7 separate regions of the Homo sapiens genome follow, and all the other regions are linked to region 3. Evidence: promoter capture Hi-C in human tissues and cell types (Jung and others, 2019). All regions are on one chromosome and are shown on one strand. The core of a region is centred on a gene start or on the middle of the fragment in contact, and the rest is flanking DNA. Distances in the headings are between cores, read along the strand shown.

What was found. Contacts are between HindIII fragments. The study calls those that stand out against the background at their distance.
Region 1: a contact is called between a fragment that was not itself captured here and the fragment with the promoter of TWIST1 in region 3, in 1 of the 25 tissues and cell types used here (aorta).
Region 2: a fragment that was not itself captured here is called in contact with the fragment with the promoter of TWIST1 in region 3 in 1 of the 25 tissues and cell types used here (mesendoderm cells).
Region 4: a fragment that was not itself captured here is called in contact with the fragment with the promoter of TWIST1 in region 3 in 1 of the 25 tissues and cell types used here (H1 embryonic stem cells).
Region 5: a fragment that was not itself captured here is called in contact with the fragment with the promoter of TWIST1 in region 3 in 1 of the 25 tissues and cell types used here (aorta).
Region 6: a fragment that was not itself captured here is called in contact with the fragment with the promoter of TWIST1 in region 3 in 3 of the 25 tissues and cell types used here (H1 embryonic stem cells, IMR-90 fibroblasts and heart right ventricle).
Region 7: a fragment that was not itself captured here is called in contact with the fragment with the promoter of TWIST1 in region 3 in 1 of the 25 tissues and cell types used here (dorsolateral prefrontal cortex).

The regions. Positions count from the first base shown.
Region 1 is chr7:18,772,420-18,775,582 of GRCh38, forward strand. The region is part of intron 16 of HDAC9 (histone deacetylase 9); the gene reads left to right. Among named protein-coding and RNA genes, the nearest start is that of HDAC9-AS1, 130 kb to the right of the region's middle. The HindIII fragment of the contact is 4,534 bases long and covers 1-3,163 here.
Region 2 is chr7:18,736,995-18,740,206 of GRCh38, forward strand. All of the region lies in intron 13 of HDAC9 (histone deacetylase 9), which reads left to right. Among named protein-coding and RNA genes, the nearest start is that of HDAC9-AS1, 160 kb to the right of the region's middle. The HindIII fragment of the contact is 3,301 bases long and covers 1-3,180 here.
Region 3 is chr7:19,115,819-19,118,996 of GRCh38, forward strand. TWIST1 (twist family bHLH transcription factor 1) reads right to left here and starts at 1,818. Exons shown (of 2, transcript NM_000474.4): 1 at 853-1,818; 2 at 1-313. The coding sequence starts at 1,503. The coding sequence ends at 895. RefSeq lists enhancers at 825-1,084, 1,108-1,891, 2,965-3,178. The HindIII fragment of the contact is 7,370 bases long and covers 1-3,178 here.
Region 4 is chr7:19,375,281-19,378,636 of GRCh38, forward strand. No RefSeq gene overlaps it. Among named protein-coding and RNA genes, the nearest start is that of FERD3L, 230 kb to the left of the region's middle. The HindIII fragment of the contact is 3,576 bases long and covers 217-3,356 here.
Region 5 is chr7:18,755,519-18,758,982 of GRCh38, forward strand. The region is part of intron 14 of HDAC9 (histone deacetylase 9); the gene reads left to right. Among named protein-coding and RNA genes, the nearest start is that of HDAC9-AS1, 140 kb to the right of the region's middle. The HindIII fragment of the contact is 3,943 bases long and covers 1-3,464 here.
Region 6 is chr7:19,403,903-19,407,187 of GRCh38, forward strand. LOC105375179 (a long non-coding RNA gene) reads left to right here. Exons shown (of 6, transcript XR_007060244.1): 6 at 1,430-2,001. Among named protein-coding and RNA genes, the nearest start is that of FERD3L, 260 kb to the left of the region's middle. The HindIII fragment of the contact is 4,859 bases long and covers 1-3,285 here.
Region 7 is chr7:19,566,744-19,570,105 of GRCh38, forward strand. No RefSeq gene overlaps it. Among named protein-coding and RNA genes, the nearest start is that of MIR3146, 140 kb to the right of the region's middle. The HindIII fragment of the contact is 5,624 bases long and covers 1-3,362 here.

The DNA of each region.
Region 1 (3,163 bases), core at 565-3,064, 340 kb before region 3:
TGTTATTTCAACCCAATTATCCTGAGCAAGCACAATGCCTTTTGTTACATCAGCAGAAAGAGGAGGGGGTAGCATCTGCTTCTCACATGCAGTAATCAGGGTAATGTTAATTTCCCTCCTATTAATGTTCAACTCAAACCTGGCTTGCAATCAGTACTTCATTTCCTCCACTGTTGCTATCAAAGAGGTATCACAAACTTTTTCCCTCCAGCACAATAAAAGGATCCACCCTGATTTAGAATCTCTCTTTTTTATATCTCCTCTTCCTAACTGTATCTGGATTTTCATCAGCTTCAGACTTGATGCAATTGATACTAGCAAGAACACCCCATGGCACCTGGCAAAATTAAAACTGATAAGCCACCTTAATGAAACTGAGAATTTAGTTTCATGCTGCAAATTCTGTAAAAAGATTATGTTGCCTCAGACTTCGAAAAAATGCATGAAATATTATTAAAGTCAGGGAATTCCTTCTAAATTGCAAAGGAAGTTTCCAGTATTGCATAGATTATGCTAATTGTGTATACTCAATAATAGTTGTTGGGATGTAGACAACACTCCCTACAGAGATACACATGTATACATTACTCTGTGTATGGGACAAAATGTGAAAATACATAGAATCATTAAGCATCTAATGTCCATTGCAGGAAAGAAGAAAATGAGAGAAGAAAACCTTAATTTCCTCCTTAATTCACTTACTTGCAGCATCTCATCTGTGATTAAATTCTTTCTATTGCTTTGACATTATGGCTAAGTACAACGAGATGCATTTTGAAATAAGAATACTTCATTTTCTTATTTAAAGTAAACATGAATATCACAAAGCTGTTAAAATTCTTCTGTTGCCAAAATGAGATGGCTAAAAAAATGCCATCATCAAAGCTTTATTTGTGTTTTTTACATTACTGGGGCCATAAGACCTATTTTTTTAAAAAACTGTATACACACACACACACACACACACACACACACACACACACACACACACAAAAGCACCTATTTCCACCAAAGTAATGTCAATAACAGGGAGGAAGAAAACGATTATGAACATTGAGACAAGAAGAAATTCAGCCTTAGGCTCTGCAGTTGCTGAAGGTAAATGGATTTGATGAAATTTAAATTTCTATCTAACTTAGAAGATCTGTGGCTCGATTAAATAAAAGCTGAGAAAGTAAAACATACTTGAATAGATTTGAAAATATGATCATCTACTGATTGCTACTTCTGACTGCCAAGGAGACGTTAGGCTTAAATCAAATGAAAATTTAGAGTAGACAAAGGAAATGGTACTACCTAAAAAAAAATAATTCTTGTAGCAGCCTGAAATACAGCTATATTCAGGCACACCTAAGCTTTTCATTTTAAGGTGAAGTAACAGCATTTGTATTTTTCATCTGTCATATTTCCACTCCGAATAGTTAGTTCCAGATCCAGATATTCACCCCCGTAACAAACTAATATTCAATATGTAAAACTGATGTGTCATTATTGGATTTGTCTTTGTGAAGTATTTTAACCACAAACTTAGTAAAGCATAACTTCTAAACTTTCATTAATGGAGAACAACAGTTTTTTTTTCAAAATTCAAAACCAAAATAAATTAGCTCACTGAATGCTTGAGCCATAAGCAGGCAGTTCACAGCAGAATCCCTAGGATTTAATCATTCCCCAACTCAAGAAAAACCCATAGCTTCTGAGTTTTAGACTAGCAGTATCATTATTGCTATAGAGTGTCTTAACTTTAAATAAAAAATAATAAGTAAAATAAAGGAATTAAATGACTAAGCAATGATTCTCTTAGCAATAGAGCATGCATTGAGTCATTATTTCTATGAAGACTGATAAGACTATTAAAGGACTAATATATTCGATATTTTTATGCTCCTGAAATCATTTGGTGAATTTATTCTGTTATATTCTAAATATTATGATTTATATAATCTCTAATTGATATTTACTATGGATACACACAGACATACCTTGGAAATATTGCAGATTCAGTTCCAGAGCAACACAGTAAAGCAAATAGCACAATAAAGTGAGTCACACAAATGTTTTGTTTCTCAGTGTATACTAAACTTATGTTTATACTGTCCTGTAGTCTATTAAGTTTACAGTAGCATTATATCTTTAAAAATGTACATAATTTTAAAACTATGTTTAAAAATCCTAATGATCATCTGAGCCTTCAGTGAGTGGTAATCTTTTTGCTGGTGCAGGGTTTTGCTTCAATATTGAGGGCCTTATTCTGGATAAAGCGTTGGCTCAAGGGAATGTGGTTGGGTTGATCTTCTGTCTAGACCACTCAAACTTTCTCCATATCAGCAGTAAGGCTATTTCACTTTCTTAGCATTTGTGTGTTCACTGCAGTAGCAGTTTCAGTTTCCTTTAAAAACTTTTCCTTTGCATTCACAACTTGGCTAACTGTTGGGCACAACAGGTCTAGTTTTCGGCCTGTCTCAGCTTTCAACATGCCTTCTTCGCTAAGCTTAATCATTTCTAGCTTTTGATTGAGAGTGTTGAGAGTGAGAGACGTGCAACTCTTCCTTTTACTTGAAGACTTAGAGGCTATCGTAGGGTTATTAACTTGTCTAATTTCAATATTCCTGAATATTAGGGAATAGGGAGGCCTGAGAAAGAGAAGAGATGGAGGAAAGACTGATCGGTGGAGCAGAAGTCACACACGATATTTATCAATTAAGTTCACTGTCTTATATGGGCACGATTCATGGTGCCCCAAAACAATTATAATAGTACTATCAAAGATGACTGATCACAGATGGGCATAAAAGATAAAATAATGATGAAAAACTTTTGAAATATTGCAGGAATTACCAAAATGTGACACAGAGACAGGAAGTGAGCACATGCTGCTGGAAAAATGACGCCCATAGACTTGCTTAACTTGGCGTTGCCACAAACCTTCAATTTGTAAAAAATCAAAGTATCTGAAAAGTGTAATAAAGTGAAGCACAGTAAAACAAGGTGTGCCTGTATCGAGTATCTTCCTGACGATCTGTAAGCACTTCTCAAAATGACTTGTATCATTTTGAGATGTGACCATTTAAGGAATAAAAACCAAGACCTACAAGTAGCGAAATTCTTTGCTGCTAAATAGATTACTTTTCTTTCCTTAATCTATTGCCTCTAAAGACAATTT
Region 2 (3,212 bases), core at 280-2,779, 380 kb before region 3:
CTTCTAGATTTTCTAGTTTATTTGCATAGAGGTGTTCATAGTATTCTCTGATGGTAGTTTGTATTTCTGTGGGATTGGTGGTGATATCCCCTTTTTCATTTTTTATTGCGTCTATTTGATTCTTCTCTCTTTTCTTCTTTATTGGTCTTGCTAGCAGTCTATCAATTTTGTTGATCTTTTCAAAAAACCAGCTCCTGGATCATTGATTTTTTGAAGGGCTTTTTGTGTCTCTATCTCCTTCAGTTCTGCTCTGGTCTTAGTTATTTCTTGCTTTCCGCTAGCTTTTGAATTTGTTTGCTCTTCCTTCTCTAGTTCGTTTAACTGTGATATTAGGGTCTTGATTTTAGATCTTTCCTGCTTTCTCTTGTGGGCATTTAGTGCTATACATTTCCCTCTACACACTGCTTTAAATGTGTCCCAGAGATTCTGGTAAGTGGTGTCTTTGTTCTCACTGGTTTCAAAGAACATCTTTATTTCTGCCTTTTTTTCGTTATTTACCCAGTAGTCATTCAGGAGCAGGTTGTTCAGTTTCCATGTAGTTGTCCAGTTTTGATTAGAATATAGTTTTCATTAGAATTAATTAGAACTTAATCCTGAGTTCTAATTTGATTGCACTGTTGTCTGACAAACAGTTTATTGTGATTTCTGTTCTTTTACATTTGCTGAGGAGTGCTTTATTCCCTATGATGTGGTCAATTTTAGAATAAGTGCGATGTGGTGCTGAGAAGAATGTATATTCTGTTGATTTGGGGTGGAGAGTTCTGTAGATGTCTATTAGGTCCGCTTGGTGCAGAGCTGAGTTCAAGTCCTGGATATCCTTCTTAACCTTCTATCTCATTCATCTGTCTAATATTGGCAGTGGGGTGTTAAAGTCTCCCATTATTATTGTGTGGGAGTCTAAGTCTCTTTGTATGTCTCTAAGGACTTGCTGTATGAATCTGGGTGCTCCTGCATTGGGTGCATATATCTTTAGGATAGTTAGCTCTTCTTGTTGAATTGATCCCTTTACCATTATGTAATGGTGTTCTTTGTCTCTTTTGATCTTTGTTGGTTTAAAGTCTGTTTTATCAGAGACTAGGATTGCAACCCCTGCTTTTTTTTGCTTTCCATTTGCTTGGTAGATCTTCCTCCATCCCTTTATTTTGAGCCTATGTGTGTCTCTGCAGGTGAGATGGGTCTCCTGAATACAGCACACTGATGGATCTTGACTCATTGTCCAATTTGCCAGTCTGTGTCTTTTAATTGGGGCAGTTAGCCCATTTAAATTTAAGGTTAATATTGTTATGTGTGAATTTGATCCTGTCATTATGATGTTAGCTGGTTATTTTGCCCATTAATTGATGCAGTTTCTTCATAGCATCAATGGTCTTTACAATTTGGCATGTTTTTGCAGTGGCTGGTACCAGTTGTTTCTTTCCATGTTTAGTGCTTCCTTCAGGAGCTCTTGTAAGGCAGGCCTGGTATTGACAACATTACTCAGCATTTGCTTATGTATAATGGATTTTATTTCTCCTTCACTTATAAAGCTTAGTTTGGCTGGATATGAAATTCTGGGTTGAAAATTCTTTTCTTTGAGAATGTTGAATATTGGCCTCCACTCTCTTCTGGCTTGTAGGGTTTCTGCAGAGAGATCCGCTGTTAGTCTGATGGGCTTCCCTTTGTGGGTAACCCGACCTTTGTGTCTGGCTGCCCTTAACACTTTTTCCTTCATTTCAACCTTGGTGTATTTGATGATTATGTGTCTTGGGGTTGCACTTCTTGAGGAATATCTTTGTGGTGTTCTCTGTACTTCCTGAATTTGAATGTTGGCCTGCCTTGTGAGGTTGGGGATGTTCTCCTGGATAGTATCCTGAAGAGTGTTTTCCAAGTTGTTTCCCTTCTCCTCATCACTTTCAGGTACACCAATCAAATGTAGATTTGGTCTTTTCACATAGTCCCATATTTCTTGCAGGCTTTGTTCATTTCTTTTTACTCTTTTTTCTCTAACCTTGTCTTCTCACTTCATTTCATTAATTTGATCTTCAATCACTGATTCCCTTTCTTCCACTTGATCAAATCAGCTATTGAAGCTTGTGCATGTGTCATGAAATTCTTGTGCCATGGTTTTCAGCTCCATCAGGCCATTTCAGGTCTTCTCTACACTGTTTATTCTAGTTAGCCATTCATCTAATCTTTTTTCAAGGTTTTTAGCTTCCTTGAGATGGGTTCGAACAAGCTCCTTTAGCTCAGAGATGTTTGTTATTACCAACCTTCTGAAGCCTACTTTTGTCAACTTGACAAATCATTCTCCATCCAGCCTTGTTCCATTGCTGGCAAGGGGCTGAAATGCTTTGCAGGAGAAGAGGCACTCAGGCTTTTAGAATTTTCAGCTTTTCTGCTCTGGTTTCTCCCCATCTTTGTGGTTTTATCTACCTTTGGTCTTTGATGTTGGTGACCTACAGATGGGGTTTTGGTGTAGATGTCCTTTTTGTTGATGTTGATGCTATTCCTTTCTGTTTGTTAGTTTTCCTTCTAACCATCAGGTCCCTCAGCTACAGGTCTGTTGGAGTTTGTTGGAGGTCCACTCCAGACCCTGTTTGCCTGGGTATCACCAGTGAAGGCTGCAGAACAGCAAATATTGCAGCCTGATCCTTCCTCTTGAAGCTTCTTCCCAGAGAGGCAGCTGCCTATATGAGGTGTCTGTCGGTCCCTACTGGGAGATGTCTCCCAGTTTGGCTACATGGGTGTCAGGGACCCACTCGAGGAGGCAGTCTGTCCATTCTCAGAGCTCAAATGCCGTGCTGGGAGAACCACTTCTCTCTTCAGATCTGTCAGACAGGGACGTTTAAGTCTGTAGAAGTTGTCTGCTTCCTTTTGTTCAGCTATGCCCTGCCCACAGAGGTGGAGTCTGTAGAGGCAGTAGGCCTTGCTGAGCTGCAGTGGGCTCTGCCCAGTTTGAGCTTCCCAGCTGCTTTGTTTTAGCTACTCAAGCCTCAGCAATGGCAGACACCCCTTCCCCAGCCAGGCTGCTCCCTCACAGTTCCATCTCAGACTGCTCTGCTAGCACTGAGCAAGGCTCTATGAGCGTGGGACCTGCCAAGCCAGGCACGGAAGAGAATCTCCTCGTCTGCCGATTGCTAAGACCTTGGGAAAAGTGCAGTATTTGGGCAGAAGTGTCCCGTTTTTCAGGTACAGTCTGTCATGGCTTCCCTTGGCTAGGAAAGGGAAATCCC
Region 3 (3,178 bases), core at 568-3,067:
AATGCATGCATGAAAAAAATAAAAATAAAAACATTCTTCGTCAAAAAAAAAAAAAAAAAAAACACAAACAACTGTTCAGACTTCTATCAGAATGCAGAGGTGTGAGGATGGTGCCGCTGCCCGTCTGGGAATCACTGTCCACGGGCCTGTCTCGCTTTCTCTTTTAAAAGTGCGCCCCACGCCCTGTTTCTTTGAATTTGGATTTTGCTCTTCTAATTTCCAAGAAAATCTTTGGCATATATTTTTATTTTTAGTTATCCAGCTCCAGAGTCTCTAGACTGTCCATTTTCTCCTTCTCTGGAAACAATGACATCTGCAAAAACCCAGAGGGGGGGGGGGGAGTCGGTTATTGTTTAGGTCTCTGCGGCTGTTTTCTAAGACTAGTGAGCACTGTTCTTATCACCACCACTGAGAAATTAAGCTGAACAACCTGGAAGGATTTCAGCCCAAGGGCAAGAGGAAGTGGGTGGGTGGAAAGGAGGAGGAGGTGGAATTTGTTTTAAAACATTTGTTTTAAGGAGAACAAAAATTGAAAGCCGAAAGAAAGGGTGGCGCTGACAAAACGGTCCTTACCCGTGACCCTGGGTGTCTCTGTCTCCCCTCCTGTCACGCACACTCACGCGCACACACACCCCTCACCAGGGCGCATCCCCCTGGAGACTGCTCTCCCTAGCGGGGTCAGACCGGCCTTCCGGGGACGCTGGGGGCGCGAGGCAACGGTGCCAAGTGAGGTGGGAAGGCTGAGCGGAGAGTGGGAGAGGGGAGGAAATCGAGGTGGACTGGGAACCGCGGCCTGGCCGGCCTGCCGTCTGCCACCTGAGAGGCGAAGGGGTGCAGCGGCGCGGTCCTTACCTAGGTCTCCGGCCCTGCTGAGGGGGTGGGGGGCTCCGCCTGCTAGTGGGACGCGGACATGGACCAGGCCCCCTCCATCCTCCAGACCGAGAAGGCGTAGCTGAGCCGCTCGTGAGCCACATAGCTGCAGCTTGCCATCTTGGAGTCCAGCTCGTCGCTCTGGAGGACCTGGTAGAGGAAGTCGATGTACCTGGCCGCCAGCTTGAGGGTCTGAATCTTGCTCAGCTTGTCCGAGGGCAGCGTGGGGATGATCTTCCGCAGCGCGGCGAACGCCTCGTTCAGCGACTGGGTGCGCTGGCGCTCCCGCACGTTGGCCATGACCCGCTGCGTCTGCAGCTCCTCGTAAGACTGCGGACTCCCGCCGCCGCTGCTGCTGCCGCCGCCGCCGCCCGCGCCGCCGCCGCCGCCACAGCCCGCAGACTTCTTGCCGCGCTTGCCCTGGGCCGGGCTGCCCGGCTCGTCGCCGCCTCCGACGCCCCCACCCGCGGCTCCGCCGGGCCCCGCGCCGCCGCCCGCGCTGCGCCTGCTGCTGCGCCGCTTGCGTCCCCCGCGCTTGCCGCTCGGCGGCTGCTGCCGGTCTGGCTCTTCCTCGCTGTTGCTCAGGCTGTCGTCGGCCGGCGAGACTGGCGAGCTGGACACGTCCTGCATCATCTCTCGAGCGGCGACGCGTGGCCTCGCGGGCCCGGGGCAGAGGAGAAGAGCGGGGCGCCTCAGCCCGCCAGCTTCCCCCGCGCGCGGCGCCGGCCCGGGCGATGCGGCCCGCGGAGGAGAGAGCAGGAGGACGGACGGGAGGGACCTCCGCGGGGAGGGCGCGCGGGGGAGGCGGGGAGGGAGGCGGGAGGGGGAGGGGACGGTGTGGATGGCCCCGAGGTCCAAAAAGAAAGCGCCCAACGGCTGGACGCACACCCCGCCAGGCCTCCTGGAAACGGTGCCGGTGCTGCAGAGCCCGCGAGGTGTCTGGGAGTTGGGCGAGAGCTGCAGACTTGGAGGCTCTTATACCTCCGTGCAGGCGGAAAGTTTGGGGGCAGCAGTGTCATTGGCCTGACGTGAGGAGGAGGGACTTTTCGAAGTTTTATAGGAAAGTTTCCGCTTTCCAGTCCCCCTCCCCCGTCCCACCTCCCTTCCTCGGGGTCTAACAATTCGTCCTCCCAAACCATTCAAAAACGACCTGGCCCGGGCGGCCGGCCCCTCCACCCGCCTCCTAGCCGCCCTCCCCCTTCCCTCCCCGTCGCCTTCCTCCGGCGGGCGCGGGGCGATTTCCTTCCCCGCCGGAGCGTGCGGGCAGCGCCCCCGAACCCTAGCGCAGCCCAGGAAGCGGTCGGAGGAGACTGTCCTGGCCGCGGTGGCAGCCCCATCCGGAGTGGCTGTGACAGCAGCAATGGCAACAGCTTCTACACAGTGGGTGATGTCTCATCTCGCCCAAGAGCCCTCTAGGTCCGTGGGGCCGATTTGGGATTGCTGGGGCTGGGGGGGTGGTGTGGCGCGGGGTGGGGGGGCATGCCAAGAAAAGTGTCAACCGCGGAGCCCACCCAATGGTCAGGTAGACGAACCCCTTGGAGTTCCAAAGGCCAAACCGCGGCGGCCCAGCCCGGAGGTCCTGGGCGTTTCTGAAGACGTGGCCGCGCCGCGGGGGCTGAGGATTTGCGTCCCGGCCTGCTCTCTCGCCCTTCTGGGCCCTCCTTTCCCCTCTACAACGACCCAGTCTGACGCTCCCCAACATCCAAAGGACTACGCCTCGGAAGGTGCTCGAAAGAGGCAGAAGTTCACTCTTCGGTGGAAGGAAACCCAGTCCATGGGAAAGGCAGCAGAGCCAGAGGGGGGCAGCGCAGCGCCTTTGCTGCGGCCCTAACAGCTGGCAATGCCAACCCAAGGGAGAGACCCTGTGGCCATTTCATCCCCACCCCCAAATTAGGCTCCGCATTGTGACCTTGAAAGGCCAGCTTGTAAGAGAGTGAAGTGGGAATTTGATAGCGCCTAGACATAGGGGCTGCCCGCTCTGAGACCCCCCCCGCCCCAGCCCCCACTATCTAGGGCATCCAGTGGACAATTAGGCTTCGTGAGCCCCAATTCCAAATGCTTGGATACGCTAACATTTTAAGCATTTCTGTCTGTAAGTTAAAACGAAGAGCCCCAAAGAGGGTGTTAATGTAGATCCTGGCAAACTGGAAGCAGCAAAGTTGGTGAACCAGAAAGGAAGTCGCCTTGGATAAGAAGCCCATCTTTTGCAATGCCATACTTGTTTCCTTTTTGAAATGAATTGAGGTAAAATAACCGTTTCAGGTCCATCCCTTACATGGCAAAGTAAAAAGCTGGAGTCAGTACACAG
Region 4 (3,356 bases), core at 755-3,254, 260 kb after region 3:
CCACAATGGTTGAACTAGTTTACAGTCCCACCAACAGTGTAAAAGTGTTCCTATTTCTCCACATCCTCTCCAGCACCTGTTGTTTCCTGACGTTTTAATGATCGCCATTCTAACTGGTGTGAGATGGTATCTCATTGTGGTTTTGATTTGCATTTCTCTGATGGCCAGTGATGATGAGCATTTTTTCATGTGTATTTTGGCTGCATACATGTCTTCTTTTGAGAAGTGTCTGTTCATATCCTTCGCCCACTTTTTGATGGGGTTGTTTTTTTCTTGTAAATTTGTTTAAATGTGAGAATTGCTGTATACATTATTTATTGTTAGAGCCGCCATATATTGGGGTTTGTTTGTCATTTCCTAGAATATTAGAGATATCAAGAGAACATTTGGAAAACTGGCCTTTAGAACTAGGGAGAAATGATGGTGAGATAAGTTGTATTATTTTATATCAATTTAATTTGATAAAGCACATAATCAATGCTGACATTACTAGACTTTTCTGGGTTCCAAGAGATCATATAAAACTGTGTTCTCTGAATCTATATCAGAGAGATGAACAGATATTGCCTTCTGAATGGAAGTCAGGGACCAGGAATCTACTTCTTTTTTGGTTATCCTAGCTGAGCTATCTTTTTCAATTGGAAGTCACTTACTCTAGCCTTTAACTTGCTGAAGTGTGTTCCTGGCCAACAGACAAAATGGACTTCCCCACGGCTAACAGAAGTGCTTAAAGTTGAAACAGAACTATGCAGCCATAGCTGGGTGAGGGAGCCATCAGTAACTCTATGTTCTCAGAAAGATGTTGTGAAAGTATCATGAAACCTTCTTTTCTACAATCAAGCAAAACCAGTTCCTGTTGTCAGGCCTGGATCAGAAAGCCAGAACCTCACCCAGCTTCATGCCATCACATGCCCTCTTGCACACCCACCACTGCCCTTTGAAAGAAACATAAGACAGAGACTTCTGGTTTGGGGCTTTGAAACAAACCAGTCAGCTCTTACTTGCCCCAGCCAATCAAGGCTCAGCTGCACTGACCAATCAGAACTAAGGAAGATTCAATCTTTCATTTGCATAAACAGATCTGATTGGCAACCCAGGCAGGAGTTTCTTGCTATAAAACTTGAACCCTCTCCTTGTTTTCTAGAATGTGCACCTTCATTTTTACACTAGAGGCTGCATCTCCCAGGATTTGGTTCACTGAAACAAAATCTCTTTCCTTCAAATTCCTTGTCAGAGAATGTTTACAAACTCTTTTGCCACAAGTCGTCTCTATTTCTTTATCATTATTTTAATGTGATGGAAGTTATCCATCCTTCATGTGATATATATGATATATTTTGAGAAGATGAAAAGGTCCAAGGCATAATTTTCATTGACTTCCTCTTTCTGGAAGTCCTTCCTGCCACTTCTGTACGTCCATAGTTCTGCGTTTTTACTTTTCTGGTGTACTTCTCTCTTTTAGTTGTGTGGTGTAGTTATGGCTGTGCTTGTTTTATCTTCTTTCCCTGAGTGCACATTCTGATAAGATAGCAAGAGCAATGATTCATCACTTACCACCCTTTTTAGTCCTAGTCTGGTGCTCAGTGTGTTGTAGAAATTCAGTGACAATTATTGAAATAAATCTTTAACATGAAATATTATTTCAGTATAATGCAACTTTTGCTTAATGTCTCTCAATATTCAATATTGTTTGAATGCTACCCAAATCACATAACTCTAAGTTATCAGAACAGAAGGTGCATAGAGTAAACATCTCTCTGTGGGTACATGCCTTTTGTTTTTAGTGTGGATTATATTTTTTCCTCAGGATTTTGGAAAGCCCAAAGTGGCTTCTAAATATTTTAAACATAGAGACATCTCTAGCTTTCTGAATGATTACAAAAGCCATTTCTACTTAAATTAAGCCTGCTTCACGTGTTATAGTTTTATGTAATTTCTTCAGCTTTTTAATAGTCTATACAGTTTAGTAACTGCACGATGTTTAAGGTGTTTGGATGCCATTTGGAAGCTTCATAAAAGGAGGTCACTTAGAGTTCAGAAATGTTTAGAAAAGAGAAAAAAAATCTTAGGAAGGTTCTCTTTGGAGTTAGCAATTCAGAACCTCTTCTTTGTTTGCATTCAAGATACAATATGCCAAGCTAAGATTATCTGTTTTGAATCAGGAAAAAAGCAAAGTTAAAAACAGAGCAAAGTAAGTTGTGTCATATATAAGGGAATATCTCAAGTCTCTTGTGCTTGCGTTGTTTAAAAAAATTGTATTTGTAAATTTATGGTATTTTAAAGTGATGCGCTTACTGAGTTTGAAAAAGAAATTTATAAAAAGAATAACAGAAAGTTTCATTGCTCTGCCTAAAGTTATGGCTCATAATTTTGGAACATATGCTCTAAGCTGTGTCATGAAGTGGTGGGGGGGGGGGGTGCTTCTGAGTCATCCCCCTTCTTGTTTAGCCTAGAGAGAAGTAGAATTTAAGATAGCCATTTATGCATCTACACATACTTAAAATGTAGCCCGCCAGAGCAGAGGATCCATTGAGAGAAAAAGACAGGGGAGACGGAAGTGACCAATAGCTAGCTTCTGGCTGGATAAAAAATTGACACATAACTTCTGGCTTCCCCTCAAGTGGAGCTTTTGCGAGGGATTTATAGGTCAGATAGCTCAGCAGTTTGAGCTTGTTGCCCACCGTACCTTAACAAAGCTTGTGCGTGTTTGTACAGCTGGACTGGTAGCTGTGGGAGTCCCGAGAATCCCACAGCCCTCCCGTCCCTGTACCTCCCCTTCGCCATTTACCAGCACACAAATACACACAGAATGAAACTGTCTGACTAGCAGGTTAAAGGCCCACAATTCAAGCCCTGTTTATTTTCTTTCCTTGATTTCCTGCTGCTACAGTGAGTAAATGATATTTTTCCCCCTTGCTTTTTTTTTAACCTGTTTGTCTATCAATGTCTGCTAGGGAATGGAAGAAATACTAACATTTTAAAATAGTTTATGTGACACACGCTTTGGTGTACTATTTTAAACTTCTCTCCCTCTCTCCCCATCTTTCTCTGAAGCTCTCTCCACTCTCATCTTTTTCTTATATTTCGGGGAGAAGGAATTTACCCAAAGGAAGGAAAGAAAAACATCCCCGAAGTCTTCAAGTGTAACTTCACCCTGAGGAAGGGTGTTATTTTAATTACTGCTGAACCCATTCTGTAGGGAGGCCTGTAAATGCTTGATGCAGCTAGTAGAGTGGCAGTTAATATGCCTTTTGAATCAGTGCCACAAACTACAAAGACTGCCATCTGGGGAGGTATTACATTTTTAAGAAAAAAATAGCTGAGACTTTTCTTTAAATGAGCTTGTAAATTCCAGT
Region 5 (3,464 bases), core at 679-3,178, 360 kb before region 3:
GTTTAAAAAAGCAAAGCTTTAAATTCAACCATTAAAATATTTATTTACAATTTTTAGAAAGAATAATTGCAATGTAGGGGGTTCAGTTGCATAAAGGATTGTGAAAATTGAGCAGTTAGACTAAGGGATAACATTTTTTTCTTGCTTTCTGGTGAGGACAGTGATTTGAAATAGGTGGAAGTAAAACTTAAAAAAATAGAGAGTATATATGCTCGTCACCATTTCAGAGCTTTATTATTGAACTGGGATTTGCTGTTTTCTGAAGTGCTTTAGAAATGGCTCTATGTCCTAAAATACTTTAAAATAAGTCGTAGTGACTGAATCAAGCAGTATTAAGACACATGAAAGGCACTTAACATTTTGAAGATTGATAATATTTTTACTCATCAACCTTCCGTCCACCAATATTTTAACCATTCCGTAGTCCCAAGTGTTGGTCAGTACAGTGTCAGTATCTTGCACTCAGTTATGAGCAGTAAGTATGGACAGCTCCCTCTAACACGTGGTTCTTGACCTAAGCTACCCATTAGAATCCTCTGGGTGGTTGGAAACATCTGGGTGCCCAAATTGCACCCAGACAAAGGTAATAAGGTAGGACCCAGGCATCAGTAACTTTTAAACTTCCCCAGCTGATTCCAAGGTGCAGCCAATGTTAAGAACTACTGAAACAGAAACACAACTTCTTAACATAATCTTAACGAGATAGAGACAAATAGGCAAGTGAATCAAATATTTGGAGATGGGAAAGTAACAGAAGTAAGCATTAACCTGAGAAACAAAGATGACACTAACTCACAAGTGTCGTACATAATTTTCAAAAATTATTAAAAGCGTTTATTATTTTGAAGTTGTCACAGGATAGGAATATGAGCTGTGAAAAATTCTCTTATTTTTCAATTATGATTAAGCTTATAAGAAACAAGCATCATGGAATAGCTGGACTCCTTTTGAAAATCCTTATTCAGGTTTCCTGTTTGGCCTCAACCTCAGTAATTTATCATTGCAATTATTTTATTTGCTTGCCTAAGGCAAATGCATAAATCAAAGCGAAGCGTGTTTTATTGCATTTCTATTGCGTGTAAGGTTATTTCACATAGAATCCTATCATCTTAAGGCTAAAAATGAGCTTTGACATAATTTAGTCAAACATCTTTATGTTCATAGATGAAGAAACAAAGGCCCATAGAGATATCTCATGGCTGACTATAGGCACATTAAGGACACGTGGGAGTCAGGACCAGAAGTCAAGGCTCCCAACTTGCAATTCTCTTTTTTTCCATGTGACCCACAGAAAGGACCAAAAGCCTGTTAGGCCACCTGCCTGCTTGATTGCCTCCTTCCTTCTTTCACTCCCCAACCTTTTTTTTTTTTTATGAGAAAAACTCTGAGAAGTACAGGTTATTACACGAGGAGGGTTGTGTGGAAGATTGTGCAGTTGCAGGGGCAGTTAAAAACCATTTCTTACGTAACATTTTAAGAAGCAGTTGGTTGGAGCATTTTAAAACTCCAGTAGTTGTGCTTAGGCATAAGCAATGAGATCATATTTTTATGTTTTTTTTTAAGAAAGACAGATAGATAAAAAAATCAATAAGACCATGAATTGACTCATTAAATATTAAGTATGGTATTTGTGGCAGAGTGTAACTTTGACACTAAGAAGTCATTTATGATTCTTTATTTTCTTCATTTTTTTAACCTTTGAATTTCTTCAGCCCTGGATTTTTGGAGAAAATAAATGAAACCACATCCCTTTATTTAGAGACAATGGATGAAATATTTTCAGAAAATGGGATATTTCAGTGGAAATTCTTGCCTGGTATGTCACCACTTTGAAAATGATTAAAGAAAATGGAGTTTTCCCCAGTGGAGGCAGGTACTCTGACTTGTCAAATTTAAGTTGGACATTTTCTCTTAGTTTGGAACTGCCACAAAATGAGCCCTTTCATGTCCACAATAATACCAAACCAATGCAACCCATCTGTTCTGCTAAATTATTTCTAGTTCCCTAACCAAAGGCACTGCTTTTTCATGCATTTTATCATGATTTTTTGCCCTTTATTATATTTTACAAAAGGTTCTGATTCCTCCAGGGCCAATGAGAACTGATTAGGACACTGGCCTCAATCCAGGCTTTGAACACAGGAGGGAAAGGAATAGAACTGTTTCCTTTTTTCCCTGCTCCTTGGCAGAAAAAAATATGAATCTATATCGTGTGTGTGCTCTGTGTGTGGGTGGGTGTGGGTAGGCTGCATTTTATCCTGTCACAGTATGACTTTGTAGATCATGTTCAGAACATTTCTTCTATAATCGGGATGCATTAACGGGCTCTCTTTCAGAAAGACTATTTCTTTAAGAAAGAACCATGGTGTGTTGTGAGACTCAATGATATGGTCATTTTAAATAACTTTAGTCAAACTCCCAACCTGAATATAGACTGTTTAGGGTTCTGAACTAAACATGATCATATTCCTAACCACAGAGTAAGTGCTCAGTGAGCATAGCTCCTTTTCAGACTCTCAGGGAAGAAACTAAGTGCACGTCACAGGGAACGATAAGGTAACAATGAACACAGTCCTACATCACAAATTTCTTTATTAAGAAGGTGACAAAAGCTATGAGGTTTCATTCCTAGGCCTGTGTTGGTAAGGCATTTAAGACCCGTATTGACTCCAGGTGAGAAATCCCCAGATGAAATCCATTCCTTATTTGCATTGTGTGCCCCAATATGCTCAGAATTCTTAAAAATCTTTTTGGGCAGGCTATCATAGATAACTTTACGTAGATATCCTTCGGACCAAGTATCTCTGAGAATAGAAATCAGTACTCCCTAAATTAAGATTATCAGAAAACTTTAGCCTATTTTTTGACTCTTTATGCTATTGACCTTTAACTCAAGAGAGCCTTGAGAGAGAGAAATGAAAGAATAAAGGGTGCGCAGAAAGTTGAAAATATGAGAAGTGATTACGTGGGAATATCTATATTTAAGCCTACACAAATAAAATACTAAATTACTGATGGCAATACCAGAAAATGGGAACTGGTGAAGATCTCAATATGAAAGGAAAAGTTGAATGTGACAAATTTAAGGCATTTATACAAGTGAGGCAAAACGGAATTACTCCAGGAGATCCTATGTGTTAAGGAATAAAGAAAGCTGTTGCTCTTTCAGAATTTTCAGCTTAATCATCCACCAAATTCTCCTAGCAGTGTCTCTGTGAGATACAAATTTCAAAACATGCTTTTTCCAGATCCTGTCTACAGGTAGAAACATTTTTTTTTTTTTTTGGTACTGAATTAGTTTTCACTGCTCTCTTTCTGTAGAAACATGTGCACTATGTTTGTGGGCTGTTCTCTAGCAACCAAAGAAGCAGAAGGTGATTGCCAAGAATAAGTACTTCCTTATATTTAGTGAAATTATTTTTTAAAAATACTTTTAATAATAATAATAAGAGCCAGTGTAAAAT
Region 6 (3,285 bases), core at 476-2,975, 290 kb after region 3:
TAGGCTAGAGTGCAGTGCAGTAGCACAATCTTGGCTCACTGCAGCTTTGACTTCCCGGGCTCAAGCAGTCCTCCCACTTTAGCCTCCCAAGTAGCTAGGACCACATGTGCTTGCCACCAGGCCCAGCTAATTTTTATATTTTTTGTAGAGACAGGGTTTCCTCATGTTTCCCAGACTGGTCTTGAACCCTGGTCTCAATCCTGCCTGCGTCAGCCTCCTAAAATGCTGGGATTACAGGCATGAGCCACCACGCCTGGCCTATAATCTGTTTTATTTCTAAGTCACCGTTGCTCATCCTACGTTCATTCTTACAAAATGAGTTAACTATATTATTGAGTTAATCCAAAATGGAATTTTTTTATTTTTTATTTTTTTTTTTGAGATGGAGTCTCGCTCTGTTGCCCAGGCTGGAGTGCAGTGGCACCATCTCGGCTCACTGCAAGCTCTGCCTCCTGGGTTCATGCCATTCACCTGCGTCAGCCTCCCGAGTAGCTGGGATTACAGGCGTCCACCGCCAAGCCCAGCTAATTTTTTCTTTTTTTTTTTTAGTAGAGACGGGGTTTCACCGTGTTAGCCAGGATGCTCTCGATCTCCTGACCTCCTGATCCGCCCGCCTCGGCCTCCCAAAGTGCTAGGATTACAGGCGTGAGCCACCGTGCCCAGCCCAAAATGGAAATTTTTAGGAAGTTAGGTTTTGCTTGTGAAAGTGATCATACGCTGTCCTACCACTATCATTTTACTGTGGGTGCAGGAAAAGAAGAAATAAGATTTGCTCCTTAATAGATAAGCTTGGTGTTATTGACTTTAAAATGAAAATTATCCTTAAAAACCTTAAAAATCACAGCTTGCTAAATATTAGTAACTAATGCACTCACTGCTCTCTTTATATATATTTTTCAAAATGTAAAGAATTTGCTACTTAACTTTCAGCTTTATTTGAAAACTAATTTTCAACTCAGAAAACCTGTGGGTTTTGTACATTTTCAGTATAAGAGAATGGGTACTAAGTTACAGTTAGAGGCTTTAAATAAGTGGAGATTCCCATTTTGAGTGGGTGTGAGGGCACATCTGCAAATTGTAGTCCTGATTCAACTTCAGTCTGTGTTTTCCTCAGTGTGACTCATTCAGTCATCACCCAGGCTGTGTGATTACTGACTCCGAAGTATGTGAAACACTCAAACAGTTGGGATTCCTTTTGGAGCATATACAAACAACTTAAATCTTCCAATTCAGATTATGTGGTTGGGCTTAAGACCGTTATGAAGGCGGGGAGGAAAAACCTGAAGGCTGTTTGTGGCTACAGGGTGTGGTGTTGTGGGGTTGGTGGCAGAGATCTGTGGTGTTAGTTAATACAGGAAGATACTCAAGTTACATTCAGTGTAACATACCAAACTTGCAAATTCTGTCTCCCTCCCTCTCTTTCTTTCAGGAGTAGTTGCCAGCAACCTTCCTGCCAACTTGGCCCAAGGTAGGTTACTTTAGGTACACTAGAAAACCAATTTCTCTGCAGTTTTTCATCCTTATCAAACTCACCTAAAGTCTAAAGAAAAACTCTTTCTGATTATAGATATTTGTTTCAATCAGTTTTATAGGAACGGCAGTCTCTGCTCATCTCTCCTTCCTGAAATTCTAGAACTCTTTAAACACAATTGCCACAAAATTGCCATGGAAGGAAACCTTTCATCACTTTTTAAATTATTGTCTCCATTTTTCAATTCTTTGGATGTTAAAAATTGGGATATAATTTGCATACCATGATATTCACTGTTTTAAAGTGTACATGTCAGTGGTTTTTAGCTTTTATTCACAGAGTTGTGCAACCATTATCATTATCTCATTCCAGAACATGTTCGTCACCCAGAAAAGAAACCCCATACCCGTTAGCCATCACTTCCCATTCTTCCCTCTTTCTAGCTCCTGGCAACTCCTAATCTATTTTCTGTCTTTATGGATATGCCTATTCTGGACATTTCATATAATTGGAAATAAAATGTGTGGCCATTTGTGACTGGCTTCTTTCACTAGGCATAATATTTTCAAGATTCATCTATGGGTGAATAATTTTCTATTTTATGGATATACCACATTTTATTTATCCATTTATTGTTTGATGGACATCTGATCAGGAAATGAATTCCTTCCTCTTTTCTTCTTTTCTTATTTCTCTCATTTTGCTTCATATTATTCCAGTTTTTGTTAACTTTGTGATATTTGTTACAGGTTATTTGATTCCACATATGGAAAATCCTAGTCTTGCTTTCTGAACTAAAGCTCTCAAACTTTAATGTGCATACAACCACATAGGGCTCTTTTTAAAATGCAGACTCTTTAATAAGACAGGATGTGAAGCCTGTGATTCTGCATTTCTAATGAGTTCCCAGGTAAAGCTGATCCTGTTGATTTGTATATTACCCCTTGGACATCAAGGATTCCAACTATGCATTCCACTGAAGGAAAATGTTCTAATTATCATTGTTAATGCCAGGCACCCTTGTAGATGTTTTCACAAATTTTAAGTTTATCTGAATATTTTATTAATAGCTATTGAATACCTGACAGAGACCGTATAGCCCACAACGCCTAATATGTGGACTATTGAGCCCTTTATAAAAAAATTTGCTGACCCATGGTTTAAAGACATACTATATTGTGAAACAATTTAAATCAATCTACGTAGGCAAATCTATGTACAGCTTAAGAAATTAGGGATTAGAACTGGAGTAATTTAGCACTGTTGATGATCAAGAACATTTCATATGTATCACTTTTTCATGATGATACAACTGAAAAATAAAAGTGAAGTCAATATTTTTAACCATTTGAACGTGTAAAGTTTGGCTTGAATCCAACTCTGTAAATTCTGTGGATGTACCCAAGCAGCTGAAGGAGGCTGGAAAATAAAGACAAAAATAGTCACACTTTAATTTTATGATTAGCAAACTCAGCTGGACTGTTAATGAAGTATAGCAATTATTTCCCTAACCCATTTCCATCCCTACCCTTCTAGATGACTCTCCATGCTTTTTCTTCTCCATCCAAACCCCCAACACCTCATCTCCCATTCTCAATCTTAACTGATGACCCCTTCCTTTCTACTAAGGAAATAAAATCTATCAGAAGAGAATTTCCATTTGTTCCACCACTACGTCCTTCTCCACCTGCATCTTGGCCTCTACTCTGGTTTTCCTATTTCACTAGATAAATTGTGCTCTTGACAAAGGCCAAATCTATCACTTGTGCACTATATCCCAACCTCTCTGACTTACTCCGGAACATCGTGACAGC
Region 7 (3,362 bases), core at 714-3,213, 450 kb after region 3:
GGGAAGAAATGACATTTTCATGAGTCTTTATTTCCATGAACATAGACTGTCCTTATTTATTTAGATTTTGATTCTTCATTGCATTTTCTAGGTTTTCTCCCATGTATCCTGTATATAATTTGTTTGATGTGTACATAATTATTTCTTTCTCACTCTTTTCTTGGCACTAATATAAATGATACTGTGTTTTAATTATAAATTATAATTGTTCATTGCTAATATATAAGAAAGCAACTGATTTTGTATATTAACCTTTTATTCTATAACCTTGCTGTAATTACTTGTTAAGGTTTTTTGTTTCCGTTAATTGATTAGATTCATCCTGGGAAATCCGTTTCCTCTTGCGTATAGCTGCATATATCTCCACTCAACATGTCTGTAGCTTGATCCCTAGAGGATTGAGTATTTTCACATTTACCCAGTGATTTGGGCAGAAACTATGCTGAATCACCTCAAATTTGTAAGGCTTCCACTGTCTGCTAACTGGGCTGCGTAGGTAGAGGACTACATTCAAAATCACAAGTGACTTGGATTTTACTCATGACTCAAGAATCTCTTCTACTTTTCATTGGTCAGTCACAGGTCTCCAACTTAAGGCATAGCTTAGCAGTCCACCAAAGATGTGGAGAGTTTGTTATTTTATGCCTTCTATAACTCAATTTCAAGATTTCTCCCTTAAATTCTAATGTTCTGCCTCCCACCCCACATTGAGACCATAATACCTGGCCATCATAGTTGCCAATTATTGTCTCCTATATTCTCTTCCTGAATGAGTCCACCAGCATAGCTAGTAAACCTTTGTGCCGTCAATCTTGAACTGTGCGAACCATCACTCACCACTCATAAAGCTCCAGTTTTTACTGCCTGAGCTTTGGTGGTAGTGGTGGGTGGAGGTCAGTGGTATTTTGAGCATCCCTGGGTAAGAAGCCCACAGATGTTCCATTGGTTTCCTCCAATGTAGTAGCAGGTTTTTGTTTGCTTGTTTGTTTTTGACAGAGTCTCACTCTATCCTCCAGGCTGGAGTGCAGTGGTGTGATATCAGCTCACTGCAACTTCGGCCCCCCAGTTCAAGTGACTCTTACGCCTCAGCCTCCTGAGTAGCTGGGATTACACATGCCTGCCACCACACCCGGATAAATTTTTTGTATTTTTAGTAGAGACAGGGTTCCGCCATGTTGATCAGGCTGGGTCTCAAACTCCTATCGTCAAGTGACCCACCTGCTTCAGCCTCCCAAAGTGCTGGGATTACAGGCATGAGCTACCTCACTGGCAATAGCAATTTTTAAAGAGTAAACACATATCTCATTTTGTTGTATGCCTTTGATCATTTTGCAGTATGCAGAAATACCTATCTATCTATTTGTTTCTATTTTGTGACATTTTATTCTAACTTTCTGTGGTGGAGAATGGCTTAACTTCCTCAGACAGCCATTTTTGGAGGCCTAGCACCTGAAGTTACTCATGAGAAAATATCAGACAAACCCAAACGTCATCCCTCCTGCATTAAATATACTTGATCCCTGTGGGTGGTGTTAGTTGACTGCTTCCAAGATAAAGAACCAGTATAATAGCTTCAGATTAGGCAGAGATGTTTAATGATAATATGTGTTTTATGATACTTAGACTAGATGATATGTCTTTTTTGAACAGAGGAAAACTCATGTCATTACAGGCTTAGAACCAGATAAGAAGGTGAGAAATTTTACGCAAACTAATTTAGTCCATAGTATTGCCAGAAGTAGGATGGCATTCTGTTCCTCAAATTAATAAATAAGCACTAAAATTCCTAGGAGACAGTTGAACTGGTATCTAGATATTCATAATCTGGTTATGATAAAGTCTTAACAATTATAGGAAATGTATCTTTAATCCACACTCACTGATTATGCTTTCTATCTGGTCTTGAGGAGGTTATGAGACCTACAGGTCTCTGATAAATTTGGCTCATTAGATTCAGCTATGTCATTTAGGTAATCCTCATAGAGAAAGCCCTTGTATAATAAAATGATGGAGCCATATGGTTTTAAAAAGTTTAATTCTTTCTGCCAAACAAGCACTAGAACTAGGAAAGCTTAGTTTCCTATAGAATTTCTTGGAGATAGGGTATAAGGCATTCTGATTAAATCCACATTTTATATCGCTGTCCAGAAGTAGTACATAAATCCTACAGAGCTGCTAAGACAACACAAGTGTCCTAACACATTTCAATTAATCACTAACTTAAGTCTACATGTGAAAAAGAAAGGACTAATTAATAACAGCAAAGAACCATTCACAAATTCAAGAATTATGTTCTATTTATAGTTGATGAAAATCTGTTTCTGTCAGAAGTTCTTATTAAGTCCACTAGTCACAAAGAATAAATGAAAATGAGCTTGAACTTTGAAAGTATATTTGCTCTTACACTCTGTAATAATATCTAGGCTGAACAATTCAGGCACTGCTATTACCAGCAATGTGATAAATATTTTTCTTTGTGGGCACATACGTCAATGTTAATCTTTAGAAATAGGCTTAAAGGCAGTAAGATCATTGAATCCTACAAATGTTATATGTTGTTGGTATTTTAGTGTCTCCTTACTTCCCCTCTCCCTGTACTCCACAACTTCTTTTTGAGACAGAGTGTTGCTCTGTTGCCTGGGCTGGAGTGCAGTGGTGCAATCTCGGCTCACTGCAAACTCTGCCTCCTGGGTTCAAGTGATTCTCCTGCCTCAGCCTCCCAAGTAGCTACGATTACAGGCACCTGCCACCACGCCGGGCTAATTCTTATCTCCCCTTTATGTTGCTTGAATTCTGTAGCTCAACACTATAGACATTCCTTGGTGAATTTCCTCAACTCACTCTCCTTTTCTTCCTTCAACAATCAAATCCAGGATAAACCAAACTCTGTCTTCTGCCTTACTGAATGTGTACAGCTGGGTAATGATGAAAATGATTGCATATCCTGAAAAGTTGGTATTACTATAGCTTCATGACCAAAACCTCAAATTAGTGTACAATCACAATGTTCTCAAGCTCACTCCCTTACTGTAGTACTATGCTTTTGTTACACCTTTCCTTCATATTGCAAATTTTTAATCTCCCCATCACCTATTCCTAGTATTTTTTCCTCATATTAATAATATTTCCTGAAAAAAACATGTTCCAAGTAGAGCATCCGCATCTTATTTGATGGCAACTCCTTACCAGTTTCTCAGGCTAAAATACTGGAGACCAACTTCTGTTCCCCTTTTTCTCTCACATTCCGCCTCCGATCCACCAACAAGTTCTCTTTATATTCAAAAGTTTCAGAATCTGTTCATGTCTCATATCTTCTACTGCCAATTTGATCTGACCTACAATTCTGATTATTGCAATATTTT